Linked DNA regions of Homo sapiens: all the other regions are linked to region 1. The links are contacts of gene promoters, found by promoter capture Hi-C in blood cells and fetal thymus (Javierre and others, 2016). All regions are on one chromosome and are shown on one strand. The core of a region is centred on a gene start or on the middle of the fragment in contact, and the rest is flanking DNA. Distances in the headings are between cores, read along the strand shown.

Region 1 (4,446 bases), core at 648-3,147:
TGCCTTGCACATAATAGTATACAGCATAGTATAAAGCCCAGAAAGAGGAATAATTATAAGTGGAGAAGTGTTGTAACAGAGATACGAACAAAGTGCTGCAGTTGCAAAGAAGGAAGTAGTTAAGATGTGATGCAAGAAGTTAAAGTCAGGAAAAGAAATGAATTTCCAGGGTTCAAATTGTCACATTCTGTATAATGTCTCTATTTTGATACAGCTGTACTTTATATCTGCTTCTAATTTATAAGACCTGGAGTAGAAGTCCTAGTAAATATGTTCTCAAGTAGAGATGCATGAAAAACATATTTCTCTTGAATCTTATGATCATTGTTATCACTTGCTTTATCTCCACATCACTGTAAAGACATTGGGCCTCCTACCTCAGCCCAACCCTCTTCAAAAGATTTCAGGCCTATACTACAAGTCAAACTTTTCTTCCTTCCATATTGCCAGATCTGCTTTCCCTGAAGCTGAGATTAGGGGACAATGACTTTTGATCCCTTTTAACTCTCAAAGGATAATGTTCTTTTAAGATGCTGTCCCACATGTTCTCATTATAATGAGTGGTTTATGGAAAATTACCTTGGTCCTATAATTTCTGTCTGATGCCTATCTTCTCTCCTGCTGATCTTTAACCAGGTGATCCACCCCAACACAGGTTAGGGAACATTGCTCTAGCTATGTTCCAGAATAGATTTCTTCTTCTTCTTCTTTTTTAAAAAAAATCTCCTTTACCCCTTTATTTGTCAGGAACACTTCAAATAAAACCTTCTTTTGGGATTTGCATGTGTATGTATGTGAACAAATTGGGTTCACTTAAAGGAAAAGAAAGGGGGTTGGCAAACTGTCATTATCACTAGTTATCTAGTGAAAGCCTACAGAGGATGCAACAGGAGGAAAGATGTAGATAGTATGTAACTGCGTACCTTTTTAATCTCAGAATTTTAAATATTTAACACCATTGCCATATAGTTACATCAGTGACTGTTAATCAGACCCACTCCCCCCCAAAAAAACCCTTTCCTAAAGCAACCCCACTGAATGAAACGGACACAAATAAAAAGGATTGTCTGGTGTACTGACTTCCAAGAACTATGAAGTGAAAAAAAAAAGAAAGCGATTTTAAAATTAAAATAAATATTTTCCTTTTAAACCAAAAGCTTGCTTCATCCATTGATTCATCGAATATTCATTGGTACCCATCTGGGAGGCCAGCTTTGCATATTTTTCGAGAGCTCCAGCTCTGAAGGCAGAAGGATTCTACTTCTGCCATGTACAAGCTTCCTGTCCCCAGACACGTTACTTACCTCCGTGCCTTAATCCCTTCATCTTTAGCGTTAATGTAAATATTAGAATTATCTCACAAATTGTAGTCAGAATTAAAGATAATGTATGTATGGTGCTTAGGAGTACTTGAAACTACATCAGTACACTTAGTCTTTACCTTAATTTTCTTTCAGCACCACGGTCAACGTCAAATATCTGGAAGGACATTGAAATATCCTGAAAGTGAAATTGTATATGACTTAATTAAATTCTATTTAAGTGTCTCCTGTAACTCTAACTATAGAAACAGGGAGACGAATAACCAGAGTAGTCAGAACCTCAGCATGGGTAGGGGACAAATCCCGTCCTTCTTCGCATTCTCCAAGGTGACTTACAGAACGCTAACGCCTTGCATACGGACAGGCGCCCCAAATTTAAGTTCGCCGTCATCTTTAAAACCCCCAGGGAGCTATGGGCCCGGGTCTCGGCTAGCTCTAAGGTCCCACCCTCGCTGATCTCAGGTTACCCAACCCTCCTCTCGGGTTACCCAACCCGGCCTCGCAGCAGTCCTCGGGTCTTCGGCCCCTCCCGCCCCTCGCCGGCGGTGCCCGCCGAGCCGGGCTGTCCCACTGCGCATGCTCCTCGCCGCGCGGTTGGGGAGCGCCGGGGCAGGGAGGCGGGCACCAGGCGCGGGTCCCTCCGGGCAGGGGAGGTAGGCCTGGGCCTGACGCCGGCCACGCAGCGGCGGGAGAGTGAGCACTCGGGCGGCGGCGTCCTGGAGACCCGCGAGAGATGGAAGCGGCGGCGACGCCGGCGGCTGCCGGGGCGGCGAGGCGCGAGGAGCTAGGTCGGTGTTGTGCGTGGGCAGGGAGCCGGGGCTGACGTGGGCGGGGGTCTGTGCGGGAGTCGGGTGCGCCCACACCTCCAGGGGCCCCGCGCTTGGCCTGAGTTGAGGCCCGATTGCTAACTGACCCCGTGGTCAGCATCCGCAAAGGAACCGGTTATCTGACCCCGAGAACTTGGTCAGACGAAGCCCAGGCCTGAATAGGGCGTTAAAATATGTGTGTGTGTGTTTGCGCGCGCGCGTGTGGGTGAGTGTGTGTGTTGAGTGGGGCGGGGCCCTGTGGGTACACGTCAAAGACGCAAGAGCCTGCGCCGTGACTCACGGTTTTTTTCCCAATGATGCTTTAAGGAAGTTATCATTGTTCTGCTTTTCAAATGCTGCAGCCCCATTCGGAATCTCCAGATGAATCCTCATTTTACTCCTTGTTATCCCAGAGTTTCGAACAGGTCGTGCTGACCAGAATGAACAGGAGATACCTGTAGCTTGCTCACTTGGCAAAGTTTGTTTGTTTTTTGCTGCTTTCCTCCCATCTTGTTTCTTGGCGACAGGGCGTGTTTGTTTACGGTTTCCCGCTGTCCAAAATAAAAAAGTAAGGATCAGGGTGGTAAAATGATCGCTCTCCCAGTTATACGTACTGTACTTGGGAGTATTTTTCATTCGATGCTGATTAAATGTAATTAAAAAATTAAATCTAAATGGAATCTTCAAGAAAACCGTTGAACTTTAAAAAATACCGTATTATAAGTAACTGATAGGTTGTTGTTATTCCTCTAATAGCCTGCAGGGCACTTTGCAATGGAATTGTTTTCAGGCCGTAATAATGGTAGAAACAATAAACTTAACATTTTATTGCGTGCTTACTGTGTGCAAACACTGTGCTAAGTGCTTTACCTATGCATTGTCTTTAATCCTCACAGCAACTGAGATAGGTGCTATCATGATTTCCATTTTATAGATACAGTAATTTTAAGCTTATTAATGGCAGAACCCAAATGTGAACTCAGGTTTCATTCATTAATAACCTGTCTTAGTGAGGATATGGAGAAATGGGTATTCTCATGCATTGCTGGCAGGAAAGGGATAATATATTTAGCCTTAAAAATGTACATATCGGCCTGGCGCGGTGGCTCACGCCTGTAATCCCAGCACTTTGGGAGGCTGAGGCGGCCGGATCATCACAAGGTCAGGAGATGGAGACCATCCTGGCTAACACGGTGAAACCCCGTCTCTACTAAAAACACAAAAAATTAGCCGGGCGTGGTGGCGGGCGCCTGTAGTCCCAGCTACTCGGGTGGCTGAGGCAGGAGAATGGCGTGAACCCGGGAGGCGGAGCTTGCCGTGAGCCGAGATCGTGCCACTGCACTCCAGCCTGGGCAACAGAGCGAGACTCTGTCTCAAAAAAAAAAAGTGCTTATCGTTTGACCCAGCAATTCTCCTTCAGAATATTTCCCGAGGAAATAAGTAATGTAACCCATACTTATATCAAGAGGTTTTCATTATAGTATATAGAGAAAAGCTGTTAACTAAAGTACAATGAAAGGAAATTGGTTAAATTGTGGTATAGTTTTACATTGCCTACCATTAAAAGTGATGTGGAAAGATGTTCAGCATGTACATTTTCTTTAACTGAAAAAAAGTTTCAAATTATTTCAGTTTTTTTAAGTTTTATATTTTCATTAATTCAACACATATTCATTGAGCTTCCCCTAGGCACTTGAGATACATCGTGAGCAAAACAGATAAAAATTCCTGTTCTTAATGGAGCTTGTATTTAGTAATGGGAAGCAGAGAGTAAGCAGTAAAGACAATAACCAGTTAATTATATAGTATGTTAGGTGAAAAGTGCTATGGAAAACAAGAGCAGGGTAAGGGAAATCAGGAATGAGGGTGGGGGCTAGGCAGTTTACAGTATTTTATAAAATGGTTGGGATGGGCCTTATTGAAAAGGTACAATTTGAGTAAAGACCTGGAAGAGGTAAGGAAATTAGCCAAATGGATATCTGGGGAACGACTACTCCAGGCAGAAAGAATAACTAAAGGAATAGCAAGGAGGACAAAGTGGCTGAAGCAGAGTGATGGAGGTGGCGATGGGGCCAAATTATGTAGGGTCTTGTAGGTAATGTAAACTGTGACTTTTACCCTGAGGGAAGGGGAGAACAATGCAGGGTTTGAACAGAGGAGTGTCATGATCTGCCTTGTTTTAAAAGGATTGCATTGACTGCCATGTGACGAATAAACTGTAAGGGGGCAAAAGTAAAAGCAGAAGAATATTTCAGTAATTCAGGAAAGATATGGGTGTCCTTCAGAGCAGTATGGTAGTGGCAGTGGAGGTGAATAGA
Region 2 (4,231 bases), core at 1,732-4,231, 2.6 Mb before region 1:
CCCCTTTACACTCTAAAAGATCTAGTGAAAAGAATGGCACTATTTTACATTTCTGCAGATCTCTTTAATGTTTGCTTTAAAAAAAGAATGCTGGATTCTCTTATCTAGTTCTGCATTCGCTCTGTTGGATATGTTATTTTGTTTGACTTATTAAAGATCTAGTCTACCACAAACGTGGTCATTACAGAAGGATCTTGTAGACTCTGAGAGGGTCTTGGAGATCTCCAAGGGTTGTGAGACCATACTTCGAGAACTGCACTCTAGAGAAACATTTGCCATGTACAGCATATAACAATGAATACAAGATTGTTTCTAATATCTGGCAAACAAATGAACAGCAAAACCCATTAAATCCAAAGCCCATTAAGATACTGTCATTTACTAGCTAGAGAACTTTGACTCAACCTCTCTGTGCCTCATTTTGCTCATTTGAAAAAGGAAATATTAATGCCAATCTCAGAAGGTTATTGTGAGGATTAAATGAGTTAATGCATGAAAAGGGTCTTTAAGGATTATGCCTTGCCAGGTAGTCCTATATAAATACCATACATTATAATCTTAAAATACGTGGTAGTGGGTGGGTGTGGGAAGGAGAAAGAAGACACAGAGGAACATGAAGGTATTCATTTTATTATTCTCAAAAAGTAAATCTTATATTTAATATTATAAAATGTATGATAGCCATAAAACATTTTTAAGGGAAATTAATATGGAGCTACTGTGCAGCTTGGTCGAAGGACCAAAAGTCAGAGGGACAAATCAAGAGATTAGGTCATTAATCACCAAGGTTATTGTGAAAATATTACAAGGCTGACATGAAAGACATTCTTGTGTATTTCAACACAATGCTGCCCATACCTCCATATGGAATTAATTTCATTATGCCCAATCATAGTTGCTTTCCTGCCTTTTCCACCAGTCGAAGTTTATCAATTCCAGAGCAATCACTCAATAAACGTTACCTAGAACCTAACTGAAACCTATCGCCCTACTTCCATGCTGTTCACATTTGAGATTTACATGGTCACTGCTTCCCAAAGACGGTTATTTATGAATCTACTTGTTAAAAATCTTTGCCTGTAAAGCATCTCAATGTACTTATAACTAGCTCCGTATGAGTTTATCAATGTCGAAAACAGTTGAATATAACAGTTGTTAATCTTCATAACCGTGAAATCTGAATACGAGTTGTGTTCTCAGTTCATGGTATAGTTTTAACAAGTTTTTTTTTTTTTAAATGTTGCCTACTGTTAAGATCAGCTGTTTGATAAGCTAAGTGCTTTTCCAACGCTGTTGGAAATGGCAGCCTTATTTCTGATGGGACATCTAAGCAGGACGTTTTCTTACGCACCAAGAAACCAACTAAATTTAGTCATTTTTGTTTTGAGAAACAGTAACTTCCAAAATAGACATTTTGATGTAGCAGATTGAGTTATGGTTGTTATACTTTGATTTGTGGAGGTTCCTAGATATTCTTAGTGTACCCTTGATATTTAGAATCCTATTAAAGCTGAGCTTAGCACAAAAAAAATATGCTTTCCTAATGAACAGTCTTTGGTATTTCTGTCAAGGGTACCGTATAAGTATTAACAGCTGACTATATCCCAGTGCCAATGCTCACCTAGGTGTCCTTGGCATAGTGCAGCTCAATTAAACGTTTATTTAATATTTTATTTTATGGAGACAGGGTCGCTCTGTCGCCCAGGCTGGAGAGCAGTGGCACTATCATACCTCACTTCAGCCTCAGTGATCCTCCCGCCTCAGCCTCACTAGTAGCTGGTATTACAGGCATGAGCCACGCACCCAGACTCAATTCAACATTTGTAAGAGTATTCCTTGTTCGGTCTCCAAGTGCTTAACTTTTGAGAGCCGTGAAAAGCCCTCTTCTCCCAAGTTTAATCACATCTCCTATAAAATCTCATCCATCTGCTGACACTTCCAATAGTTTTTTACTTTTTTCTTTTACTGACCTAATCCTGAATAACCTTAAATTGCTGCTTTCCTTACTTCTCCTTAACTTCCCCAGACCTCTCTGCAAACTTCTAATTCCCATTCGGCTGAAACACTGTAATACTTCTAGTCCCATTATTACAAATTCTAACAAGTCTCCAAAAGCTGAAACTGACTTCTCCAAGGTGACCAGGCTTTCTTAGCGTTTCCAACTCTTTCCCCCTAGATCCTAGAAAATAACTTTACCCTGATACTCTTCTAGTTCCTTCCCTCACCATCCTTCTTTTTTCACGTTTTTACCTACGTTTCCAATTCACCTCATCCAGCTCTACCTCCGTATTACTTCTTCTCATTCCGAACTATCTCAAGTTTCCTAAAAGCACCTACTGTTCTAGCACATACTCCAAAATTCCCGCACTGCCTTTTTCTCCTTTCTCTACTCTTGGGACAAGCAATCACAATTCCTTCGACACGCAACTAGCTCCATCTTCCCTTCTAGGAAACCTTCTCTAGCCTACCCAAGCACTGTTAATCACTCCCCTCTAGATTATTCTACTACGGTAGCACTTCCTAAACTATACTGCGCAGTAATCACTAATTACGTGTAGTTTCTCTTCAGTGTTTTTCTCCTTCAAAGCAGGGTTTCTATTCTGTTCATTTGGACCCTAACAGTATACCAGGCATCGAACATTTGCTAACTGGAGAAATAAGAGCTCCAACATTTACTTCCTATCAAAGCTTTCCAATGCCGCGGTTTTCAAAAACCTAAGCATTCGACACTCCAATTTGAGAAATACCAGTGAATACCAGTAACTAAACTGGATGGTGACATTTGATGAGGCGAAAACAATATTTAAAATCAATTCCCCCTGTCGCCTCTCCAAAAGGGCATTTCCACATTGAAGTTCCAGTAATTCTAGGTGACAGGAAGCGCGCGTTCTGGCTACGAGCATCACACAACGAAGTTAATGTGGATGGGAGTGGGAGGCACTGCAGGGATAGGAAACAGCATAAGCAACGACTAGTAAGCGCTCGAGAGACGGCGGACTACTATTCTGCAACGTCTCTTAAACACACTGGCGCGCCTCACCTGATCTGGCGAGTTTCCTAGAGGGGCCGCTGAACCCACGTGACCAAAAGAGCTACATTTTTGCAGGCCAGGGAGTGGGCAGTTATCCCAGCCGGCCCTTGGGAATGTTAGGCAACCGGGGTTGGTTGCTACGCCAAAAGGTGAATAAGGGCTGGGGAACAGGGGCGGCCAGCCCAGTTTCACTGGGAGCCAGAGGGTGCAGCTTCGACACAGCCACAGTGAATGGAAGCTTGGGGAGCGCGGGGCAATCTAGGCATTCCCGCCGACCTCCAGAATTGCGTCAGAAGCTGGACTGACAGCGCCCTGAAACGTGAGGAAACTCAAAGAGGCGCTTAGGGCCGACGTGGGGCCCACTCGCGCCAACTGCTTCTTACCGACAAGTGAGAACCAGAAGCCGCAGAGACAGACGCCGCCGCCATCTTTCAGCCTGCCCAGGGGGTCTCCGCACTTCGGGGGCGGTCTAGGTTCTCGTGCTCTTCTCCAAGACTCGGGAGCCGCCCACCAGCGGGGACCCTAGGCTGAACCCCTGATGGAAAAGGGCAAGGGTGCTGGTGCTGGGCTTGGAAACCCCTGCAACACACCCCCTCAGGGCCGCCTACGCTCACAGCTTACACAGAAAGGGCAACACGTCCTAACGGACGTCTTTCCTAGCCAATCAAAACAGCAGACGTCTTTCTGTAGTAGGAGAGAATCCGCCTCTTCCCTGGTGACGTCACAAGGTAGCGCGTAACGGGGCCCGCTGGGGCAGACAACGCCGGGGTTACAGGCCGGCTCTGCGGGGATTCTACGGAGGGTCGGGCCTCCTCCAGTAAGAAGCGTGGGCGAGTAGTGGTGTCGCCAGTGGCAACTGAAGGGAGTAATGGAGATAAAACAAAAGCGAAGGCGAAGTTAAAGCACTCCACGAGTTCCCTCGGATTAAACGCCGGAGAGAGCGTGAATTTGCCTCGGGGACGCCTCTCCAGGTGAAGTATTTACCTTTTGGCCAATAACAAATAGGATTAGGAGGGACTTAACGATTTAGTCCAATAGAAAGCAAGGGAAAAAAAGTTGCGGCAGAGAACGAGCCTTTCGCGAACATTTGCTCAATTGGATTGGGGCGCTCTCAGCCAAACCTGGGACTGGCTGTTAGAAATAGCCGCGACCGCAGACCTTTGGGCGGGGCAGGTTCAAAGCGGATTTCGCGCGCTGAGA
Region 3 (4,326 bases), core at 1,504-4,003, 3.0 Mb after region 1:
GATTAATATTCATTTTACTTGATTAGGTGAATTATATGCAACACTGAAATTTTGCACTCTATACGCAAGTTACTGCAGGATTCAAGTAGATAAGTGCAAGTAGAGTGTTTTAGTGGGTCGTGTTTCTCATGCAAATAGAGTTTTTAGTTTCCTTCTCTTGTTTTTCATAGGGTTGGTCTTGCTGTAAGAGAAGAACAACTGATTTTTCTGATTTCTTAAGCATTGTAGTAAGTACTAATTATTTTTTCTAGATTATCTTCCTAAAAATACATGTTATAGAAAGCTTCAGATTTGAGGAGTCTGATTTCTGATATAGATTGATTGGTCTTCATCAACTTGCAGATAACACCTTTCAAAAAGCAGCTCATCTCCCTTCCACAGCTTGTAAAATAAAGAATCTGTTTTGGAAATTAACGTTTTAAGGTATCAGTTACCTGCTTATCATTTTAGGTTTGTTCTTTCTGTTATGTTGAAAGAACATCAAGGAGAAAGTGGTAAGCAACAATTTAAAGCCTTTTCAGTTAGGAACGATAAAGTTTTATCTAAGATGCTGTTGAAATATTTTACATACCACTTTTATATAAAACCACTTTATATACCACTAAGAAAACTAAAGCTACTAACAAACTGATAATGCTATTGATTGTATCATTTCAGAGGTGTTAAAGAGTATGTATAATTCAGTAGAATGTAGTAGAAAAGTAGCTAACGTTTGTTGAATGTTATCACCTGCCAAATGTGCCAGGCATTTTATTATTTAACTCTCTCAGAAAATATCTTACCTGACATTACCTCCATTTTACAAATGAGGAGATGGAGGTTTAAAAAGATTATCTTGCTTAAGGTCATATAACTAATAAGTATGTTGAGAACTAGGTCTCAAATTGAGGCCTTTCGAGTAACAGATTTTTCTGTATAACTATTTTTTACAGTTCTTTGTGAGATTCTCCAGAATTCTTCTGTAAACAAGAGGTTTATGCCATATTTTTAATAGAATAAGTAGATGTTTATGAAGTGTAATTCAAAGACTTTTTAAAAAAGCCGTCATTCAGAGATTCAGCAAATATGGCAAATTTGGAGTTCTGTTTTTAATTTCTTAAAATCAATGTATTGAAACTGGAGAAAACATGAAATAGAATCACTATCAATAAAGAACTGAAAAGATAATATTTCTATCATGAAATGTAAAATAGATAGCTCTTAATGAATTATCTTTCACTAACAGGGCTGTACAAAAGGTAGACATAATAGTGAGAAGCCACCTGAGCCAGTCAAACCTGAAGTCAAGACTACTGAGAAGAAGGAGCTATGTGAATTAAAACCCAAATTTCAGGAACACATCATTCAAGCCCCTAAGCCAGTAGAAGCAATAAAAAGACCAAGGTATACTTTATACAGTTACATATTTTTGTCACACTTGAATAGTAGCACTTGTGCATGGTACTTTCCTTTATGATTTAGCATGATACCATTTGTAGCTACTATGTAGGCCACCAAGCTTTGAACCATTTGGTTTCTCCCTTAAATCTGCCTTAAATTTTTATTTCTCTTCAACTTGAGAGCATGTACACAATATAACTACATAACAGATTTGCATATTGTACTGTCATAATTACAGGGACATGTATCATCAGGGTAGGGAAGTCACATTTTTCTTGTGCCTTAGAGTGCATCTTTTTCACTGTGGCATGGTAAAATTCTTTGAAGCAGTTTTCCTTTTCATGGCATGAGTTTGAAGTAGAAAATAATGCAGAGGCCTAATCATCCATCTTTACTTTCAGATGCCTGAAAACTACCGTTAATCTCATTACTACTGGTCAATTTTTAATGCATTTGATTTAGATGACATATTTGTGAAAGTAGTCTTAAAAAAGCGTTTGCTCATTGTGCAATAGAGTTGTACAGATTCTTCATACTTGCCTTCTGATAACCAGACTCTGTATTCCCACACATGTATATTGAGTACCTTTGTTGAACCAGGTCTTCTTCGTGCTACACTTGAGTACTAAATTGTTTTAGAAGCAAACTACAGGACTTAAAAAAAGGTGATTTTTTTTTTTTTTTTTGGCTGCAAGTAGGCACTTATTGTAATTTTTATTCATGCTATGAACTCATGATTTTCCCTTTATTCTCCTTTGATCCTACTTAAATAAATTTATAGAGTATTGAATAATATAGAACCAAGATAAGAACCCTAAGAGACTTTAGATGTTTATTTGTTCATTAGCACTCTGAGTACAGATTATTGCTAAGGAAACTACTCAGGATGATTTTATTCTCTCTCCATCTTCATAGTTAGAGGAGACCATTGAATGCTTTGGCCAGTTTAGCAGTTAGAAAAATAATTGGGAAAAGACAAAACTTCAGTCATGGCTCATTCTTAATCTCTTTAGTAATATAATACAGTCTGTACTATAATAGTATGAGTTAATTTTTTCTTTAAATGATGGGCTGTTATTTTACTTAAAGGGCAGTGAGAGGCCAGGCACTGTGGCTCAAGCCCATAATCCAGCACTTTGAGAAGCCTAGGAGGGAGGATCCTTTGAGCCTAGGAGTTTGAGAACCAATCTGAAAGAGATCCTGTCTCTCCAAAAAAAATAAATTAGCTGGGTTTGGTGGTGTGCTCATGTAGTTGCAGCTACTCAGGCTGAGGCAGGAGGATCTTGAGATTGACTTTTTGAAAAAAAAGGACAAAGGCAGTGAGATGAGAAAAACTAAATATTTTATCCTAAATTCATTTGGTGGTATTATAACAATTATGAGGATATCAGTTTTTACATACTTTTCTTTTTTTTAAGAAGAAAAGTCCCTCTCTTACCCAGGCTGTAATGCAGTGGCATTATAGCTCACTGCAGCCTTTAACTCCTGGGCTCAAGCCATCCTCCTCCCTAACCCTCCCCGGAACTATAGGTGTATGCTACTATGACTGTATTAGTCCATTTTCACAGTTACGAAGAAACACCCGAGACTAAGTGATTTATAAAGAAAAAGAGGTTTAATGAACTCACAGTTCCATATGGCTGGGGAGGCCTCACAATCATGGCAGAAGGTAGAGCGAGTAATAAAGGAATGTTTTACATGGTGGCAGGCAAGAAAAAAACCATCAGAACTTCTGAGACTTATTCACTATCATGAGAACAGCATGGGAAAAAGGCATCCCCATGATCCAGTTACCTCCCACTAGGTCTGTCACACACCATGTGGAGATTAGGGGAGCTAGAATTCAAGATGAGATTTGGTTGGTGACACAGGGAAACCATATCAGTGACCGACTAATATTTTTTATTATTTTGCGGAGACAGGGTTCCACTTTGTTGCCCAGGCTTCAAGCAGTCCTCTTGCCTCAGCCTCCCAAAGTGTTGGGATTATGGGCATAAGCGACCATGCCTTGCCTATGTACTTTTAAAATGCCTCTTTTGTCAGTTTTTTCATCGAGGATATAGAATGAATAGCCTACGATTTTTATTTTTATTGCTGTGTTTATTAATATGTTTAATACTTATTTATTGAGTGGACTTAAATTATGTATACAACACTTAGCCATTATGAAATGTTAGAAGATGTTGTTTTTTAAACCCTACTGAAATTGCCTTGCAATACGATCGTATCTGAATTTACAGATCCATATGCCAGTGTCCACATAAATTATCTCCACTGGTAGAAGTGAGTATGGATTCACTTAGAACTTACTTATATTTCATGTTTATTATGTGCTCAGCATTGAGCTTGGGCATGGGATGTAAAAGTACATTATGGTCCCTTCCTCAGCATTACTCATCTTGAAAACCTTGGATTCCTAGTCTTTATTCCTTTCTCGTTAGTGCAACTGATTAATACTTAAATATGCTGACAATAGCGTGATTATTTGAGACTTACTATTCTAATATAAGGAGCTTTTCTGTTAAGACAGAATGTAGATACATTGTAACAATTATTTATAAAATACCTTTTAACCTTTTAATGGGAATCATTTGATACACAAAGCATTTGGCTTCTCAGAAAGCTTTTAAGGTTATTAATTTGGAGTACAAAGAAATATTTTGGTATATTAATAATGGTAATAAGGTTTCAAAATTCTCCAGCCCAGATGAACCAATGACAAATTTGGAATTAAAAATATCTGCCTCCCTAAAACAAGCACTTGATAAACTTAAACTGTCATCAGGGAATGAAGAAAATAAGAAAGGTAAGATTTTATTTTGTTTTATTGTTAATTATTTTCTGGTACAGTTAAGCAGTTATCCAAAAGAGAGAATAGTAGTTTACTGCATATAAATAGGGAAAAGTCGCACATTGTAGTTAAGAAACTTTTTCTTCTAAATGTCA
Region 4 (4,339 bases), core at 540-3,039, 3.0 Mb after region 1:
TACCTCAGGGACAGTTTATATTGCATGCTTTTTTTTCTTCCTGTATATGAGCCATTCTTCTTATTTACAAGACATAATTTTTTATTGAAAACTGGATATTTTATATAATATAATGTGACAACTCTAGAAATCAGATTATCTCCTCCCAGCCTTTCTTTTGATTGCCATTTATTGTTGTTGTTGTTGTTGTTATTATTTATCTCCTGGACTAATTCTGTAAACTCTTTATTCCCTGTTATTTGTGGCCACTGAGTCCTCTGTACAGTTAGCTTTGTAGTTAAGCTCGTGATTGGACAGAGATTTCCTTATATACCCTGAGTGAATAAGCTGTATATTATTTGTTGAGAGGCTCTTTGTATGTATTGACAGGCTCTCAATGTTTTGATAGTTTACAATTCTGCATTAGTCTTCCCTTCCTGCTTCAAAGGACCTAAAGTTCAAGTAGAGATGAGAGGATGGAACTTTCTCAGATCATTCTTTTACATGGACACAGCCCTACTCATGGATGTGGCTTTCTTCACATTCCTTAGGAATATGTCAGTGTTGTTCAAAGATTCTGGTGTTATCTCACTCATAAACTCTTCCATTTACATTTTTATTGGCCAGCTTCTTATTGGCCTCAACTCGTATAGTCTCCTCAGGCAGCTGCCATGTTAAACAATCACTTTTGATTGTTTTCAGCAAATGTCCTAGAAACAAGATTTTTCCCAATCAACAAGCTTTCAGTAAGTCAAAACGATCACAAGCCTTAAAAATTGAGCTTTTCCAAGGAGCTGTCAGATGGGTCAATGCTTAGACAATGCCATTCTGCCTCCTCTTGTAGCTTCTAGAATTCCACTTTACATACCTATTGTTGAGAGGCTGCTGGATTTTATACCTACCATTTAGGTATAAAGAAGAGAATGGAAATAGGGAAATTAAAATGTCACACAATTTGTTGTTCTTACCAATATTTAGCACTTTTGTTGAATAAGGGCTCTTTGGATTATTGCATGCCTTCAGTTAATTTTGAGATTTCTGGAAAAATCACATTAATGGAAAACTCCTTTCAATTATTCCTCTTTGCCCTAAGGATAAAAGCCTTTTAATCATCCTTACAGCTGCCTCTCAGGCTGCCTGTGTTGTTGGGCCTCTGTCTACCTTTCCAGCCTCAGATGGTGTTATAGTTTAGATATTCGCCCCCATCCAAATCTCATGTTGAAATATAATCCCCAGTCTTGAAGGTGAGGCCTGGTGGGAGGTGTTTGGATTATGGGAGTCCATCCTTCATGAATGGCTTGGGCCATTCCCTTGGTGATAGGTGAGCTCTTGCTCTGAGATCTGGTGGTCATTTAAAAGTCTGTGGAACCTCCCCTCCCCAACTCTCTCTCTCTTTCCCTGCTTTTGCCATGTGAAGTGCAAGCTCCTGCTTTGCCTTCTACCATGAGTAAAACTTCCTGAAGCCTCACCAGAAATTACGCTTCCTGTAAAGCTTGCAGAACCATAAGCAAATTAAATCTTTTCTTATAAATTACCTAGTCTCAGGCATTTCTTTATAGTAATGCAAAAATGACCTAATACAGAAAATTAGTACTCAGAGTGGAGTATTACTATAAAGATACCTGAAAATGTAGAAACAGCTTGGAAATTGGATAATGGCCAGAGGTTAGGATCACGTGGAGTATGTCTTTCTAGAGAAGACAGGAAGATGAGAGTAAGTGTGCAACTTCTTAGAGACTGCTTAAATGATTGTGACCAAAATGCTGATAGTGATATGGAAAATGAAATCCAGGCTGACTAGATCTGAGATGAAAACGAGGAACTTATTGGGAACTGGAGCAAAGGTCACACATGTTATGCCATAGGAAAGAGTTTGGCTGCATTCTGTTCATGCCCTGGGTATCTGAGGAAATCTGAACTTGAGAGTGATAACCTAGGGTATTTAACAGAAGAAATTTCTAAGCAGCAAAGTGCCCAAGATGTGGCCTGGCTGTTTCTAACAACCTTTGCTTAGATACAGAAGCAAGGAAATGGCTTAAAGTAGAAATTTATATTTAAACAGGAAACAGAGCATAAAAGTTTGGAAATTTTGCAGCCTAGCCATATGGCAGAGAAAGAAAAAGCTTTTTTGTAGAGAGGAATTCAAGCAGGCTGTGGAGCAACCACCTGCTAGATACATTGGCATAACTAAAAGGGAGCCAAGTGCTACTATTCAAGACAATGGGGAAAACAACTTGAAGTCATTTCAGCGAACTTCATGGCAGCCCCTCCCATCAGAGGCCTTAGGAGGGAAGAATGGTTTCATGGGCCGAGCCCTTGGCAAACTACTCTCCCCACATCCCAGCCACTCCAGTTCCAGCTATGGCTCAACAGGGTCCAGGTACAGCTCGGGCTGCCACTTTGAAGGATGCAAGCCATAAGCTTACATGGCTTACATGAGATGTTAAGCCTGTGGATGTACAGAGTGCCAGAGCTGAGGTTTGGAAGCTTCTGTGAGGGTTTCAGAGGATGCATGAAAAAGCCTGGATGTATAGGCAGAAGCCTGCTGCAGGGGCAGAACCCTCACAGACAACTTCTACTAGGGCAATGTGGAGGGGAAAATATGGGGCTGGAGCCTCCACACAAAGTCTCTAATGAGCACTGGCTAGTAGAACTGTGAGAAGAGGGCCACCATCCTTCAGACCTGAGAATGGTAGATCTATTAGCAGCTTGTACTCTGTACCTGGAAAATCCACAGGCACTCAATCCCAGCCCATGAGAGCAGTTGGGGGAGTTGTACTCTGCAAAGGTATAGGGGTAGGGCTGCCCAAGGCCTTGGGAGCCCTCTCCTTGCACCAGTGTGCCCTGGATGTGGAACATAGAGTCAAAGGGGATTACATTGGAGCTTTAAGATTTAATGACGGCCTGCTTGGGTTTTGCCTTGCATGGAGCCTATAGCCCCTTTCTTTTAGCCAATTTCTCCCTTTTGGAATGGGAATGTTTACCCAATGCCTATACATACCTATTGTATCTTGGAAGTAACTAACTTGTTTATTTTACAGGCTCATAGGTGGAAGGGATTTGTCTTGTCTCAGATGAAACTTTGGACTTTTGAGTTAAATCTGGCAAAGGTCAAGATTTTAGGGGATTGCTGAGAAAGTATGATTCTATTTTGCAATGTGAGGACATGAGATTTGGGAGGGGCCAGGAGAAGAATTATATAGTTTGGATAGTTTTCCCTGCCCAAATCTCATGTTGAAATGTAATCCCCAATCTTGGAGATGGGGCCTGGTGGGAGGTATTTGGGTCATGGGGGCGCATCTCTCATGAATGGCTTGGGCCATCCCCTGGGTGATGAGTGAGTTCTCCAGTTGAGTTCACATGAGATCTGATCATTTAAAAGTGTGTGGCACCTCCCCCACCACTTGCTCCTGCATTTACCATGTGAAGTACAAGCTCTCATTTTGCCTTCTGCCATGAGTTAAAGCTTCCTGAGCCCTTCCTGTATAGCCTGCAGAAATGTGAGCCAATTAAACCCTCTTTTCTTATAAATTATCCAGTCTTGGGTATTTCTTCATAGCAATGCAAGAATGTCCTAATACATCTGGTATCCCTTATTTCTGAGCATTGGTTTACCTCGATGATTCTGTGCTTTCTTTAATGTTATACTACCTTCCATTGCAGGACTTCTGTTTAGACTAACACCTATGCCTGCACTCCAACTCAAGATTAGGCAAATTCCCATCTCCACTAACTTAGCATAACGTACTTCCCATTCATAGCATTTATGGCAATTATCAGTGATTGAATTCATAATTGGGAATATTTGATTCACATCCGTCTTTCTTATAAAATTCAAATACAACGAAGACAGGTAAAATGTCACTTCAGTTCACCACTGTATCCTGCATCTAATGTACCAACACACATTAACTACTTAATACATGCTGAAATAAATTAAAACCTATATATATATTTTTTTTTTAAATCGTGGACAAAATAAAAAAGCAAGCACATACTTTATTTAGAAAATAGAATAAAATAAAAGCAAGGAAGCAGACACAACTGCATATAAAAGGGAAAACAAAAGTGAAATAACCAAATAGGACTAAACATCTAAGTTGACCATTTTCATTGCTAAACTTTTGTGAAATTATCATTCAGTGCTTACACTAGACTATATGTTTTACATGCATTGTTTAACTTAATCTTCACAGCACTCTGTTATCAATGTTTTACAGATAAGAAAACTCAGGCTTATTGACGTTAATTGACTTATAAAACCATTAATAAGTTCTGGGCCACTTTGGCACCTGAACTTTCAAGCATTAATCAGAAATAAAAAGGTTAAGCTTCTCTGCAAAATAAAAAGATTCTCGGA

What was found. Contacts are between HindIII fragments. The CHiCAGO score rates a contact against its expected background, and 5 or more counts as called.
Region 2: a fragment that was not itself captured here is called in contact with the fragment with the promoter of SLC36A4 in region 1 in 1 of 17 cell types (fetal thymus); the score reaches 5.1 in fetal thymus.
Region 3: a contact is called between a fragment that was not itself captured here and the fragment with the promoter of SLC36A4 in region 1, in 8 of 17 cell types (naive B cells, naive CD4 T cells, naive CD8 T cells and 5 more). The highest score is 13.9, in naive B cells.
Region 4: a contact is called between a fragment that was not itself captured here and the fragment with the promoter of SLC36A4 in region 1, in 3 of 17 cell types (total CD8 T cells, total B cells and non-activated CD4 T cells). The highest score is 6.3, in total CD8 T cells.

The regions. Positions count from the first base shown.
Region 1 is chr11:93,195,442-93,199,887 of GRCh38, reverse strand. It overlaps SLC36A4 (solute carrier family 36 member 4), which reads left to right and starts at 1,897. Exons shown (of 11, transcript NM_152313.4): 1 at 1,897-2,110. The coding sequence starts at 2,056. RefSeq lists a silencer at 1,756-2,135. The HindIII fragment of the contact is 1,801 bases long and covers 1,280-3,080 here.
Region 2 is chr11:95,789,927-95,794,157 of GRCh38, reverse strand. CEP57 (centrosomal protein 57) reads right to left here and starts at 3,660. Exons shown (of 11, transcript NM_014679.5): 1 at 3,415-3,660. The coding sequence starts at 3,459. RefSeq lists enhancers at 2,752-3,415, 3,379-3,848. The HindIII fragment of the contact is 581 bases long and covers 2,691-3,271 here.
Region 3 is chr11:90,211,075-90,215,400 of GRCh38, reverse strand. It overlaps CHORDC1 (cysteine and histidine rich domain containing 1), which reads left to right. Exons shown (of 11, transcript NM_012124.3): 3 at 171-227; 4 at 1,226-1,383; 5 at 4,083-4,186. Among named protein-coding and RNA genes, the nearest start is that of CHORDC1, 9.8 kb to the left of the region's middle. The HindIII fragment of the contact is 2,505 bases long and covers 1,501-4,005 here.
Region 4 is chr11:90,226,161-90,230,499 of GRCh38, reverse strand. All of the region lies in intron 1 of LOC124902812 (a long non-coding RNA gene), which reads right to left. Among named protein-coding and RNA genes, the nearest start is that of CHORDC1, 5.3 kb to the right of the region's middle. RefSeq lists an enhancer at 1,954-2,460. The HindIII fragment of the contact is 631 bases long and covers 1,474-2,104 here.